Regions from separate parts of the Homo sapiens genome. Here region 2 is linked to region 1. The links are contacts of gene promoters, found by promoter capture Hi-C in human tissues and cell types (Jung and others, 2019). All regions are on one chromosome and are shown on one strand. Each heading gives the region's core, a stretch centred on a gene start or on the middle of the fragment in contact. The rest is flanking DNA. Distances are from core to core; before and after follow the strand shown. Region 1 holds the start of FOXL2 (forkhead box L2). Region 2 overlaps PIK3CB (phosphatidylinositol-4,5-bisphosphate 3-kinase catalytic subunit beta).

Region 1 (5,848 bases), core at 1,544-4,043:
GCTACAGTACAACCAGGTCTATGGTTTTCGGGCCGGGCCGGCTCCGGGCCACAAGACCGCCTAGGTCGGCCGCTGCCGGGTTTCACATTTCTCCTTCCCAAGGTGGGAGAAGCAGGAGGTTTGAAAAACAAAAAGCAGGGAGGACGAGCCGTCCCAGCAGCGTGGGCCAGGCAGGCAGTGATCTCCCTGCCTCCAGGACTTGCATCGAAAGATCCGGGGACATTTGTTTTTGATTTTTTTCTTCAGATAGGGAGAGGGTGAAACTTCCCCAATTGGTAGACGAAACCATCTTTTATTGGATATATTCTCCTAACTCTGAACACAGCTTTTTGAAGGCCCAACAAAAACTCTAACGCAAATCTTCCAGAAGAGAAGATGAGGAATACTAAAGCTTTTGATTTTCATATTTGGATTTAGCAAACTCCAAGGCCACAATACTTCCCCGGTTGCCCGGTGAATTTTTTTTCCTTTTTTTTTTTTTAAATACTCTCTTAAAAAGTTCCACCGATCTTTCAAACAAAACATTAGCCAGCCGCCGGGGCCCGGAGGTGCCCGAAGCGACGGGACTGATAGCGGAGGAAACGCAGCCTCCCTCCGCGCCCGCCCGCGGTGTAAACCGAGTACAGGCCGTGGAGCCAGGCTGCCCCGGCTCCCGCTGGGTCCCAACCCCCGCCCCGCCTAGTGGGCCCCGCGGCAAGCGGCTTCTGAACAGCTTCAAGAGGGTTCGCGGAGCAAACACACGTATTGGTCCGTCCCTTTCTCGGGCAGCGCGGTCCCGCCATCAGTCCTGTCCGGCGCGTCTAGCCATGGACTGCACGGCAGTCGGGCGGGGAACGCGGAGAGCGAGCGCACCGACCTGTGAGAGAAGGCCAAGAGGTCTGCGCTGCCGACGCCCGGTCGCACCTCCGCCCCGGGCCCTTTCCGCGGTGAATTTGGGCAGGAGACGCTGGGGCTCCGGAAAGAGACGAGCCCAGTAGAAAGCGCGCAGAGAGGCAGCTTCAGGCCAGGGGAGTGCAAGGTCACAGAGGTCAGGGAGGTGAGCACAGGAGGACATAAACTGAGGGGACAAAGAGGAGCGACAGGAGCTTAGGAAAGCGAAAAAGCACAGAGGGACCCTGGGCGCTGGCTCCAGAGGCGGGCCCAGAGGGTGTGAGGTCAGGCTGGCGGCGGCGTCGTCGGCTGCGACCGGGGCCGGCGTCGCGCGTCCCTGCATCCTCGCATCCGTCTGCACCGGCATGCGGTGGGCTCTCAGAGATCGAGGCGCGAATGCAGCGCGCCGGTCTTGCTGTCGTGGTCCCAGTAAGAGCAATGCATCATGGCGAGCTCGGGCTGCCGGGCACAAGCGAACTGCAGGCCCGGCGCACTGGTGGGCGCGGGCGCCGGGGGCGCGGCGGTGGCTGGGCTGGCAGGGCTGAGCTGGCCCGGCGGCGGCGCGGCGGCCCCGTGGTGCGGTGGGGCAGGCGGCGGTGCGGCGGCCGCGTGCAGATGGTGTGCGTGCGGATGCGGGTGGGGGTGCGGCGGAGGCGGGGGTGCGGCCGGCGGGCCTCCCAGGCCATTGTACGAGTTCACTACGCCGGGGGGCAGCGCCATGCTCTGCACGCGTGTGTACGGCCCGTACGAGGCGGCCGGGCCCGCCAGCCCCTTGACCACAGCGGCCGCGCCAGGGCTACCGGGGCCCGCGGCTGCAGCCGCAGCTGCTGCAGCCGCTGCGGCTGCCGCCATCTGGCAGGAGGCATAGGGCATGGGTGAGGGAGGCTGCGGTAGCGGCCACGAGTTGTTGAGGAAGCCAGACTGCAGGTACTTGGGGGGCGCCAGGTAGCCGTAGCCGTCGGCCCCGGCGCCCGCCACGCCGCACCCGCCTGCGGCGCCTCCGGCCCCGAAGAGCCCCTTGCCGGGCTGGAAGTGCGCGGGCGGCGGCCGGAAGGGCCTCTTCATGCGGCGGCGGCGCCGGTAGTTGCCCTTCTCGAACATGTCTTCGCAGGCCGGGTCCAGCGTCCAGTAGTTGCCCTTGCGCTCGCCGCCGCCCTCGCGCGGCACCTTGATGAAGCACTCGTTGAGGCTGAGGTTGTGGCGGATGCTATTTTGCCAGCCCTTCTTATTCTTCTCGTAGAACGGGAACTTCGCGATGATGTACTGGTAGATGCCGGACAGCGTGAGCCTCTTCTCCGCGCTCTCGCGGATCGCCATGGCGATGAGCGCCACGTACGAGTACGGGGGCTTCTGCGCCGGGTCCGGCTTCTCCGGGGCTGTCCCGCCGCCACCCCCACCGCCCTTGCCTGGGCTCGGCGGCGGCCCTTCTGGCTCCTTGACTGTGCGACCGGTCTCTGGGGCCAGCAGGGCCCCCGCCGCGTCCTCGGGCTCGGGGTAGCTGGCCATCATGACAAAGCCGGCGCGCCGCGGCCGGGCCGCCTCTGCTCTCCGCTCCAGGCGCTGGCGCGGCAAAGAGTTGGGGCGCACGAGTCCGCTTACGGCCAAGTCTCAAACTTCTGGAGACTGCGGATGCCGCCCGCGCTTGCTTGCTGGAGGCCTGTCGCTGCTCTCCCCTCTCCTTCCCCTTCCCCTAGGGAGCGGCCGGCGGGAGTGGAGCTCAGCCTCTGGCCATGGGGAGTCCGCCCAACAGAGAGGGGCTCCGGCCTCGCCGCCCCTCCCCGCTCAGGCCAGTCCCCGCCTTGGTGGGTTTTCTTTTCTGCGCTCTTCCCCTCCCCCCGCCCCCCGGTTTCCCGAAGCACGACCCGCGTCTCTGGCGGAGCTGCCTCCTGGAGTCCCTAGTGCGCCAGGAGCCTCGCTCTGTTCTGATTCGTATGGGCTCCACCGAGTTCCGCTTGCGTCAGGCGCCTTCGCCCCTATAGCGGGGCGGCCAGCCGCGCACGGGCGAGTTCATCTCCAAGTCACTTTTTGTAAACGCCCCGCACAGCCTGGACCGGCCTGCCCCCGCCCAGCGAGCCTCAGGGGCCCAGCCGACAGCCAGGCTCACGCGCCCTTGAAATCTGCCGGTACTCGCTCTGCGGGCTGGGCTGGGAGATGACGAGGACCCCGGTGGGGTCTGCCCGCACCCGGCCAAAGCCCAGGAAGCTCGGGCCCCAGCGAGGAAAGGCGCTCCAAGCCTCCTCGCGGCTTTCAGGTGAAAGAAAACGACTCCTTTGCTCTGCCGTTTGCTGCCGTCTTGAGGCTGAACTTCTAGCTCGGGGCTGGGGAGGGGCGAGACGGCGAGGGGGCTGGACGGGGTAGGGTGGGGAGAGCTGCTCTGAGGCTTTGGGAAAGTCAGCCCAGAAACGGGTGTGACTGTACGAAGAAGCCTCGGCCTGGCCTGTCCCTCGCGCTCTCAGAGTGACTGGGCTGGAATGGGGCAGGGGAGAGGATCTCTGGAAATAGTCGTCAGGGGCGCCGCCTGAATCACCTCTGCCTCTCCCTGCGTTACCAGTGGATCTAGGAACCAGGAATCCGTGTACTAATCCTACGGGGTTGGAGTGAAGGTTGGATGTGTGCTTTAACAGCACCAAGTAGATGCCCCTCAGCTATTGCACTAACACAGGCGGGGCTGTTGCCCGGGACTTTGCGGGACTGTGTATGTGTGTGCACAGGGGTCACATATGGAAGTCATGGAGAGGAGCTGTCCTTGAGATGGGTGAGATACCAGGTGCATGTGTGCTGCTCAGAAACACAGGTATGCACATGTACAAGGTGTGAGATTTGTATTTACGAGGTAAAACACACTTATACTGATAGTTATGTAATATGTTCATCAAGTATTAGAGTAAATGTAGCTGGTGGATATAGCATCTTCTCTTTTTCTCCTTTCTTACTTCTTTCCTTCCCCCCTTTCTTCCTTTCTTTCACAATTCTTCGATGCCTCTTTCCCTCCCAGTGTATGTATTTTGCCACAGACTGGGAAGACAAACATCAGGCTGAGGGAGGGACTTGTTCAAATCTCTCTCCTGATGAGACATTTGTTCTGATCTTTCTCCAAAGAATCAGGAGTTAGTTGTCACCTACCTTAAGCAGAATTCTGATGGGAATCCAATTATTTCAGCATGTACAGAGATTGTTTCAGGGAAAATCAGGTGTGCCTTTTAACAGTGTGCTCCTTAACAGTGCCTTTTAACTTGGCCTAAACAAAAAGTCTGCAGTCATAAAGTATGAGAGAGATGGCCAGTGTTTTGAATCCTCAAGCCCCAAACTCCTTGGTGCTGAGGAGGGGGGCAAGGCCACCTTATGGAGGAAGGTGGACTGAATGGATGTCATATAGCTGTGCATTAGTGATTGGCATGTCTGGAGTGGCTGACTCAATGCCTGTCACTGCCTCTTCCTCCCAGGCTGTTTAGACTCTGAGGGTTCTCCTGAAGCCCAAGGAGCCTTCAGCGGCCTGTGGTTCCAGCATCCACAGGCCATCTACAAGTGTTGTCTGCTGCTCACTCAGGCCTCTGATCTGCATTCTGAGATGAAAGGGAGGGAGGACAAGGGTGGTAGGGCTCTTTGGAATTCAGCATCTTGAAGATGACACCAGAGAGGTCAGCAGGGCAGCCCTTGCCTGGTCACAAGGATGAGAGGGAGCAAGGCTATCCCCAAAGTAGCTTGGTTTTTTTTATGGGCGGTCTCCCACTGCACCCAACAGACATGGGGGAAGCAGCACTTCCGCAGAATCCCTGCTGCTGCTTTCTGAGCAGGAGTGCAGATGTTTTTCTTCTTCCTTACCCCCATCCTTGCCCAAGCTTTGGGTGGGAGTGGTGAGTCCGGTTTGGGGCTGCTGCAGATTGGCCTCAGTGCCTATCCTCCCCCAGCCAGGGCCTGGGCAGGGGGAAAAACAGCTGGGTCTGGCCCCATCCTGGTGGGGGCTCCTCTCTCCTTTTCTCTCCTTTTTTTTTTTCTTGACCACCCAGGCTGGCTCTCTGCGTCTCTCTGTCTTTCTTTCTTCTTCTCACAGGCATTTCCGCTGCTCAGCCCTGCAGCAGCCAGGTGTAACAGCATTGTTGTGTGTGTCATCACTTCCCTGAATTCCACACTCGGCTCCCTTTTCAGCCTTTAAAGAGCCTGTGTGTGTATGCATGTGCGTGTGTGTGTGTGTGTGTGTGTGTGTAGGGGTTGGGGGCAAATGAAGGAGTTCCTCTGAAGGATTTTCAGAATAGAAAGGAGTTCTGCTCTGAAAATACTGATTTCTGACTGTCCCGTAGAGGAACAGAATCCCCAGCCCTGGTGAAGAAGAGGATGCCTGATGCGTGCACCCTGGGAAGGGCTGGAATCGGTCTCCCCAAGATGTGCCTTCACATGGCTGTCCGGCATTCGAAGGCTCAGAAAACAGGCAAGAAAATGCGGGCGGGAAAGCTGGCAGAATGATTACTTTCAGGTCCCCTCCAGGCTTCTGCGGAAAAGCCAGGGGCTTCGGGCTGGAGATAGAGGAATCTAGGGAGAGAACAGAATCCTCTCCTTGCCGGCCCAGCCAGAGGTGGGTGAACCGGGCGCTCCAGGAAACGGTGCGGGGCGCCCTGATTTACTTCTCAACCTTCGGAGGTAGGCTGGTTGCTGGCGAGGTCGGGATCCTCTCTGAACAGGGCATACTGTGCCTAGGTTTTGTGGACGCCAGGGCCGGTTCCTTTTCTCCCCGCGGCATTGGGGCGACGCAGGGCCCCCGGCTTAGTGACCTTGGGGCGGCGCTCACCTCCAAAGGCCAGGGTGGTGGGCTGGGCAGAACTCACTGCCTCTTTGCCCCAGTTTTCCAGGGTCCCGCAGCTGCAATTCAGCAGCCACCGGCGCCTCCTGACCGTGGTCCCACCGTAGCGCCGCCTGCGGATACGGTTCCAGTGAACCGCCGATTGAGCGCAGTCTCAGCTCCCGCGCCTCCTCGCAGCCTGGC
Region 2 (7,744 bases), core at 2,042-4,541, 240 kb before region 1:
TCCGGAGAAATGCCTGATTCCAAGGCTGGGGTAGGGAAAGTACTAGATGAGTGTGGAATACGCTGTTGTATCGGAAAGAAAGAAATGCTCAAAGAATGATAGGGACAAAGCAAAAAGAGACAAGAGACAGCTTAAATGGGCTCCCATGAGCCAGATCTGGGATAAATTAAACATTAAGATAAATGACAGTAACTAATTACAAATCATCGAATAAATGGAAATCACAAATCCATCTCCTATAAGTTAAAAAAAAGAAGAAAGAAAAAAGAGATGAATGGGGGAGAAGAGGAGTTCAAGGCTGCAGTGAGCTATGACTGTACCATTGCACTCCAGCCCGGGCAACAGAGCAAGACCCTGACTCTAAAAAGATAGATAGATAGATAGATAGATAGATAGATAGATAGATAGATAGATAGATAGAGATAGAGTAGAAGAAAAGCCTCTAACCTATGTTATAAGCCAACTAATAAATCCAAAACGAAAAGCAAGATTTAAAATTGGCAACCCACTGCAGTAACACTGATTCAAGGAAGATGTATTAGTGAATGCAAAAAGAAGTGGGTGACAGCTTGATCTGAAATAGAATGTTTACTTAGTGTCAAAATACGCCCCCACAAAACCTTTATTTATTAACTTTATACTAGAAAAACCTAGCAGACACCGTACTAACCAAGGGATAACAGTTAACTTCCAGAGTAGTGGTAAAAGCCGATATTGCCTCCTGATAAAATGCAGTAAGAAAACTACACCTTTACTTCTTTGATATTCACACTAAAAATGCATAACTGGGATCCTAAACATGACAAAACATCAGGCAAATCCAAACTGAGGGATATTCTATAAAATAATTGGCCTATAGTCTTCAGAAATGTCAGTCATTAAAGATTAAAAAAAAAAAAACAAAAAACAAACAAACAAAAAAACACTGAAGAACTGTTTCGGACTGAAGGAAGCTAAATATACCTGACAATGAAATGCAGCAAGTAACCAGAGATTGGATCCAAGACTTATAAAGCACATGACTGAGAAAACTGGCTAAATTTGAATAAAATCTGTAGATTATATAGAACTGAATCAGTATTATTTTCCTGACCTTCATGAATCTACTCAGGTTATGTATAAAAATGCCATTTTTTAAAGGAAATACTGAAGAATTAAGGGGTAAAAGGACATGATGTGGCCGGGCGTGGTGGCTGACGCCTGTAATCCCAGCACTTTGGGAGGCCGAGACGGGCAGATCACGGGGTCAAGAGATCGAGACCATCCTGGCCAACATGGTGAAACCCCATCTCTACTAAAATACAAAAAATTAGCTGGGCATGGTGGCGCATGCCTGTAGTCCCAGCTACTTGGGAGGCTGAGGCAGGGGAATCGCTTGAACCCGGGGTGGCAGAGACTGCAGTGAGCTGAGATCATGCCACTGCACTCCAGCCTGACAACAGAGTGAGACTCTGTCTCAAAAAAAAAAAAAAAAAGAAAAAGAAAAATCTAATAGATACTAGTAATTAATGCTATGGAATGTTAGAAAGGTATTTTTTAAAAAGTAGACCTATTCATACTCACATGACAATATCCACAAAGTATATTAAATGAAAAAAGTAGAAACTATATATATATATAGTTTTATATATGTATATATAGATCTCATTTATTTTAAAGGGGGAGATATTTACATATAAAGTTAGGATTGATAGCTACAAATTAAACTGTTTACAATTAGCTCTGGAGAGGAAGGTAGGTGGGAGTCACAGAGAGAAACTTTCATTTTTGGTTTACAATTTTTTTTTTTTTTTTTAAAGATACAGGGTCTTACTCTGTCATAACAGCCTCAACTTCCCAGGCTCAAGCTATCCTCCCACCTCAGCCTCCCAAGTAGCTGGGACTACAGGTCCATGCCACCACGCCCAGTTAATACTTTTTTTTTTTTTTGTAGAGATGGGGTCTCTCTGTATGGCCCAGGCTGCTCTCAAATTCCTGGGTTCAAGCAATCCTCCTACCTTGGCCTCTCAAAGTGCTGCGATTATAGGGGTGAGCCATCACACCCATCCTTACCATTTATTAATTGTACTTTGTGCCTAATAAAAAACAAACAAATTGTAAAGGTATATCAGACCTGGGCAAGATTACTGCATGCTCAGTGTGTAGCAAACTCTCTGATTTAGGTCAGGTACAAGTTTATGGTGGAAATAGTAAAAACTAATTCATTTATCTGAGGTTCAAGGAGCAATATTGTCTTATAAAGGGTAATGAGACAGGCACTTGAACCAAGACCTGCCTGTGTAACTATATCTCCTAAGCTTAAACTGTAATTATCTGTTTCAGTAATTGCCTAATAAGCTGATAAATTAACACCTGTAAGAAATTTGTTTTGTATCATTAAAGGTAACTGCTCTTGCAGTTGTCTCTTTTTAAAGTTTTTCTTTTATTTTTTAAATTTATACACAAACACACATTTTTTTACACTAGTCTCTGAGATTGCTTCCACTTTTATTTTACTGTTTTACTTTTTCAATAAACTCTTACTTCTTAGAGATTCCAGGCCATTCTCAAGTCTACATCCTCAGCAAGAAAAAGCAGTCAAACACAAGGATCCTATCACACCAGCCTCATCAATTGATCATGCAAATTTTTTTCAGGCCATATATATAATTTAAGCTATTAAAATTTGCACAATGTTTACAAATTAAATTATTATCTGAAACTGTCTCCAGAAACCTGAATAACACAAAACTTTGGGAAAAAAGACAGAGAGAGGAAGAATTTGGCTATTATGGTCCCAAACTGGCCCAGAGCCTTTCGTAAACTGTAAAGACTAGGAGTCTGGCACTACTGCTCTCTTTCCTAAGGTCAAGCATTCAAATTCAAAAGACAAAATTTAAGCCAAAAACACTAATAAGAAAGCAGTAGCAGATGACTCACACTGAGAAACTAGGGAAAGATTCTGAGAGCTCTAATGGCAAAGGAGAAGACAGCCTAGGCCAGACATTTCACCAACTGGCCAAAATTAAATAGTGCTTTGATTCTGTGAGAATGGGAAAAACATACACATTGTCTCCAGTTTGCCTCCTAGTCTCTATAACACTGCCATGCTACAGGTAGAATGACTTTGCTAAATAGACTTAAAAGTTGTAAACTGATGACGAGAATACTGGATTACAGCTCAACAAAGTCAAACTAGAAAGAGCCAAAAAATTAAATAAAAAAGCACAGATGGTATACATATTTATATATATATATGTAGATATAGATATAGATATGTAGATATAGATATAGATATATAAATGTAGATATAGATATAGATATATAGATGTAGATATAGATATAAATATAGCAACCCAAGTCAACAAAGTAACCTATTTGTAGTATCTGCATAGAAACAAATGGGAATAGTATATGTGGCAGAGACTACTATTTGACCCTCAATATCCATTCTCCACTTCTTCCTTTAGTACTAGAATCTCTTACTCTTAGCCAAGCGCATGACTGATGGCGTGGCTAAAGACTGCACCTCTCAGATGCGTGTGTACTTAGGCATGGTCAGTAAGATCTGGCCAATGACATGTAAGCAGAAATGATACATACTAATGATATCCTGAATAAGAATGGGGTGTGACCACTACTATTGTTTTTCCTGTTCCTGCTGGCTGGAATATAGTAAAGTAGGAAGCTGAAGCAGTAATATTAAACCATGAAATAGAAAATACATGTTAAATATGGCAGAGCACTAAGATGGAAGAAATTTGGGTCACTTGCATGATGATGTGTGTGCCTATTACTAAATCTGCTTTGTTACCTGAGAGAAATACAGTCTCCTCATTAAACTAAATAATATTCACTATGACAGCATTGTTAATCTATGAGGTGCCACAGAATCCCTTATAGATTACCTGCTAAACCTGTACTTGTATCAGAAAAGGGCTTGCCCACTGAACCCAGATCACCCACAAATTGGGCTGCCATTTAACAAAACACTATCATGTGCATACTTACCCACACTCACAGACTGTTCTTGCATATGAGTTACGGTCTTCTGTGAGTTCATTACTATGAGGCAAAGATACCTAATAATGTGCACAACTCCATAAGAAAGGGCCATTTAAAACTCTTGATACTTACTGACACATTAGCACTATCACTGCTTGCAATCTCAGCTGCCTTTTCAATAATCTGTTTAAAAAAATTAAAGAAAATGAATTTTGGCTCTCATATTTGTAGAATTTTAAGTGTAAATGACTACATTTGTACTTAGACTACATAAGATCTGGCATTGCTATGCTTTGTAACAGAAACATGAATTTTAAAAGCAAAATGATGCTTCTCAAGTGCTTTAAACTCTTGACAACAGGGAAATGATGGTATTGCTATAAGGGATTATGACTCCTAGGAAGCACTAAAATTGTCTGGAGATAAAACAAGTACCAGCTAGCATATATATGTCAAAAATTTTCTTTTAAGTATAAGTAAATGTATTCTAGTTAAGAAGACACAAAAACATGTAAGAGTTACTAAATTGTAGAATAAACTTTTCTCATTATGTTTTTTCTTCAATTAACAGACACCAAAAGTAGAAGTAACGACAATATCTAACTTGTACAATTGAAGGAGATCAATAAGCATATACTTATTTACATACTTTTTGTTTGTTTTTGAGATGGGGTCTATGTTGCCCAAGCTCGCCTTGAACTCCTGGGCTCAGGCAATTATCCCACCTCAGCCTCAAGCAGATGGGACTAAAGGCTGCTGTCCCTGGCTTATATATATTCAAAGACTAAAATCTCTATCCCAAACTGATCTTCTTCAAGAAAGACTCTCCAAGAGATTAGAAAGGCAAAAAAAAAAAAAAAAAACAAAAAACAAAACAAACAAAAAAAAAAACTTATATTTGCAAATATAGGAGGCTATATTTGTAAAAGTACTTCAAAAAGCATTTCATTTGAGCCAAAAGAGCCTATAACTGTTGAACACACATCATAACTGAACATGATAATAGTCACAGCTAAAACTATTAAATATATCACGAGTAGCTATGGCTTATGGATAAATTTCTATCAAAGGAATAACTAAAGACACTACATAAACGTATTGGATGAGTCAAAATGTAGCTTTTTCTACTCAGTGTATACTAACGTATATGATTCTTGCCATATTTGAAATTTATATTATAAGCACAAAATTTAATTTGGTTGTAAATTATTGTTCAGAAAAACATGTTTAAAAAACTTGAAATAAAAAATTACTCCTTAGATGGATAAAATCCAATTATAATGAAAATGAAGAAAGAGTGAATTACATAAATTTAATTTGCTAATACTTTAAATGTACAGGTAGATTATCTTAAGTATTTATAAAGTATAATATCAATCTTCAAAGGTAGTTTGTACTCAAGCGGATTGAGGAAATTAAATAAACTTTCAGCTTATTTTCTGAACATTTTTTTTTCTCCAGAGACAGGGTCTCTCTCTGTTGCCCAGGCTGGAGCACAGTGGCATGACCATAGGTCACTGCAGTCTGAAATTCCTGGGCTAAAGTAGTCCTCCTACCTCAGTCTCCAGAGTAGCTAGGACTATAGGCACATGCCACCACACCCAGCTAACTTTTAAATTTTTGTACAGACAAGGGTCTCTCTATGTTGTCCAGGCTATCTTGAACTCCTAGCCTCAAGTTATCCTCCTGGTTCAGACTCCCAAGCTGATGGGATCACAGGCTTGAGCCATGGTGCCTGGCTCCTAAATTCTGAGAATTTGTTCAAAGATTTCCTTATAAAAATCAACACTACCAGGTGCAGTGGCTCTCACTTGTAATCCCAGTACCAGGGATGCTGAGGCAGGACAGTTGCTTGAGGCAAGTAATTTGAGGCTCAATAATTGTGCCACTGCACTCCAGCCTGGATGACAGAGAAATACTCCATTTTTTAAAATAAAAAACACCATGCCAAACCTAAAGATAAAATATATGACAGCTCAGCTCTCTTAGCATGTAAATTACCATAGCCCTATATTTAGCCCCCATTAGATAATCTCTTTATCCCCAAGACATGCAGTGTGTATATTAAAGAAATATATTTAGAAATGAAGTCCTTACTATAGATTCTATAAAATAACTACATTAGGAAGCGCCACTAACAGACATATTCAACAAAAATCAATTGTTCTTTGAGTATCAATTCTAATACAGCAGTGACTATACCTTTAATATTTGAAACAACATTTTATGTATTCAGTTACATATGAATATATTTATAGCCCTTTAAGGGCGTGAGATATTAAAAAATAGAACAATTATGATTTCTTCATTTTATAAATAAGAAAAGTGAACTCCAGAGATGCCTTTTCTCTCTCTCTTTTTTTTGAGACGGAGTTTTGCTTTTGTTGCCCAGGCTGGAGTGCAATGGCACGATCTTGGCTCACTGCAACCTCCGCCTCCCGGGTTCAAGCAATTCTCCTGCTCAGCCTCCCGAGTAGCTGGGATTACAGGCATGTGCCACCATGTCCAGCTAATTTTGTATTTTTAGTAGAGACAGGGCTTCTCCATGTTTGTCAGGCTGGTCTCGAACTCCCGACCTCAGGTGATCCACCCACCTCGGGCTCCCAAAGTGCTGGGATTACAGGCGTGAACCACTGCGCCCGGCCTGGAGGTACCTTTTCTTACTTAGTCAGTGATAAAACCAAAACTAACAGAGTTAAGAAGGCTCCCTGATCCATGGTCTTCCCACTCAACAAAGCTGTCACTGTATGGGAAGTTTTGAAAGAGACAGATAGAGCTTAAACTATACATAGAGGAACTGATCATTCAATCATTTCATGCATAGAGGTCCTTTAAATAATTAGCTTACCTTATCGAAGGGAGGGTAATAATAAGGTTGTTTTTTATTCTCTGGAAATTTAACATGCAAAGCTGTTGCATTTTCAGTATATGGATTTGTTTGAACAGTTCCCATTGGATTCAACATTTCTTCGAGTTCATCTAAAACATGCAAATAATTTTGGTTCTTAAAAAATGTCTTTAAAACTAGGCTTTAAAAAAGCTGTAATGGATCTCCTCCCATGAAAATCACCTTAGAAGTATGTCAACTACAGAAGTGTGACAGACAATTCTATCAGTAATCCTCTAATTTTCTGTTAATGCTTGGAACAAAATTTCAGTGTGAGTTTGCATACATGTTTTAAAAATGAGAAAGTTAACAAAACTGAATGACTACTTTACCTCTTAATTCAAATTTAGTTCTCAATCTTGAAAAGACTTTAATTGGAACTGCTCTCTCTCCATCAAAATTAGGTGGCCCATAGAAACTATAATCTCATCACTACATATGGACTTCTTAATCACATGTAATCTGGTTTTCATGGTTGTCACAATAACCAAATTGGTATTTTAAGTCATCAATGACATTCTTCTTATCAAATCTAACGATAATGCTCTTTATTATCCTGCAACTGCTGACAGAAAATACCTTCTCTGGTAGCCTCTGGAATACTCCATTAAGTGGCGCTCCTTTTACCTCACCAACTGCTTCTTTCTTCAAGGTACTCCTTCCTTTTCCTTTTCCACCACGCTAAATATGGTCAATTCACAGAACTGTGTGTGTGATTTTAGAATTTCAGTGTAGTTAGAAAACTCTGGAGTTCGCATCATATAATTTTTTTATTTCACAGATAAGAAACTCATGATGAGAAAATAGAGTTAGGTGTACAATCTAAGATCCTCTCTCTCCAAAGTAATTTTTCTTTTCTTATACTGACTGTAG

The links. Contacts are between HindIII fragments. The study calls those that stand out against the background at their distance.
Region 2: a contact is called between a fragment that was not itself captured here and the fragment with the promoter of FOXL2 in region 1, in 2 of the 25 tissues and cell types used here (lymphoblastoid cells and mesendoderm cells).

The regions. Positions count from the first base shown.
Region 1 is chr3:138,944,344-138,950,191 of GRCh38, forward strand. FOXL2 (forkhead box L2) reads right to left here and starts at 2,794. Exons shown (of 1, transcript NM_023067.4): 1 at 1-2,794. The coding sequence starts at 2,379. The coding sequence ends at 1,249. It overlaps FOXL2NB (FOXL2 neighbor), which reads left to right and starts at 2,874. Exons shown (of 3, transcript NM_001040061.3): 1 at 2,874-3,121; 2 at 5,177-5,296. The coding sequence starts at 3,022. RefSeq lists an enhancer at 180-769 and a silencer at 2,810-3,038. The HindIII fragment of the contact is 6,167 bases long and covers 1-5,460 here.
Region 2 is chr3:138,700,327-138,708,070 of GRCh38, forward strand. PIK3CB (phosphatidylinositol-4,5-bisphosphate 3-kinase catalytic subunit beta) reads right to left here. Exons shown (of 24, transcript NM_006219.3): 11 at 6,833-6,963; 12 at 4,117-4,167. Among named protein-coding and RNA genes, the nearest start is that of FAIM, 95 kb to the left of the region's middle. The HindIII fragment of the contact is 9,160 bases long and covers 1-7,744 here.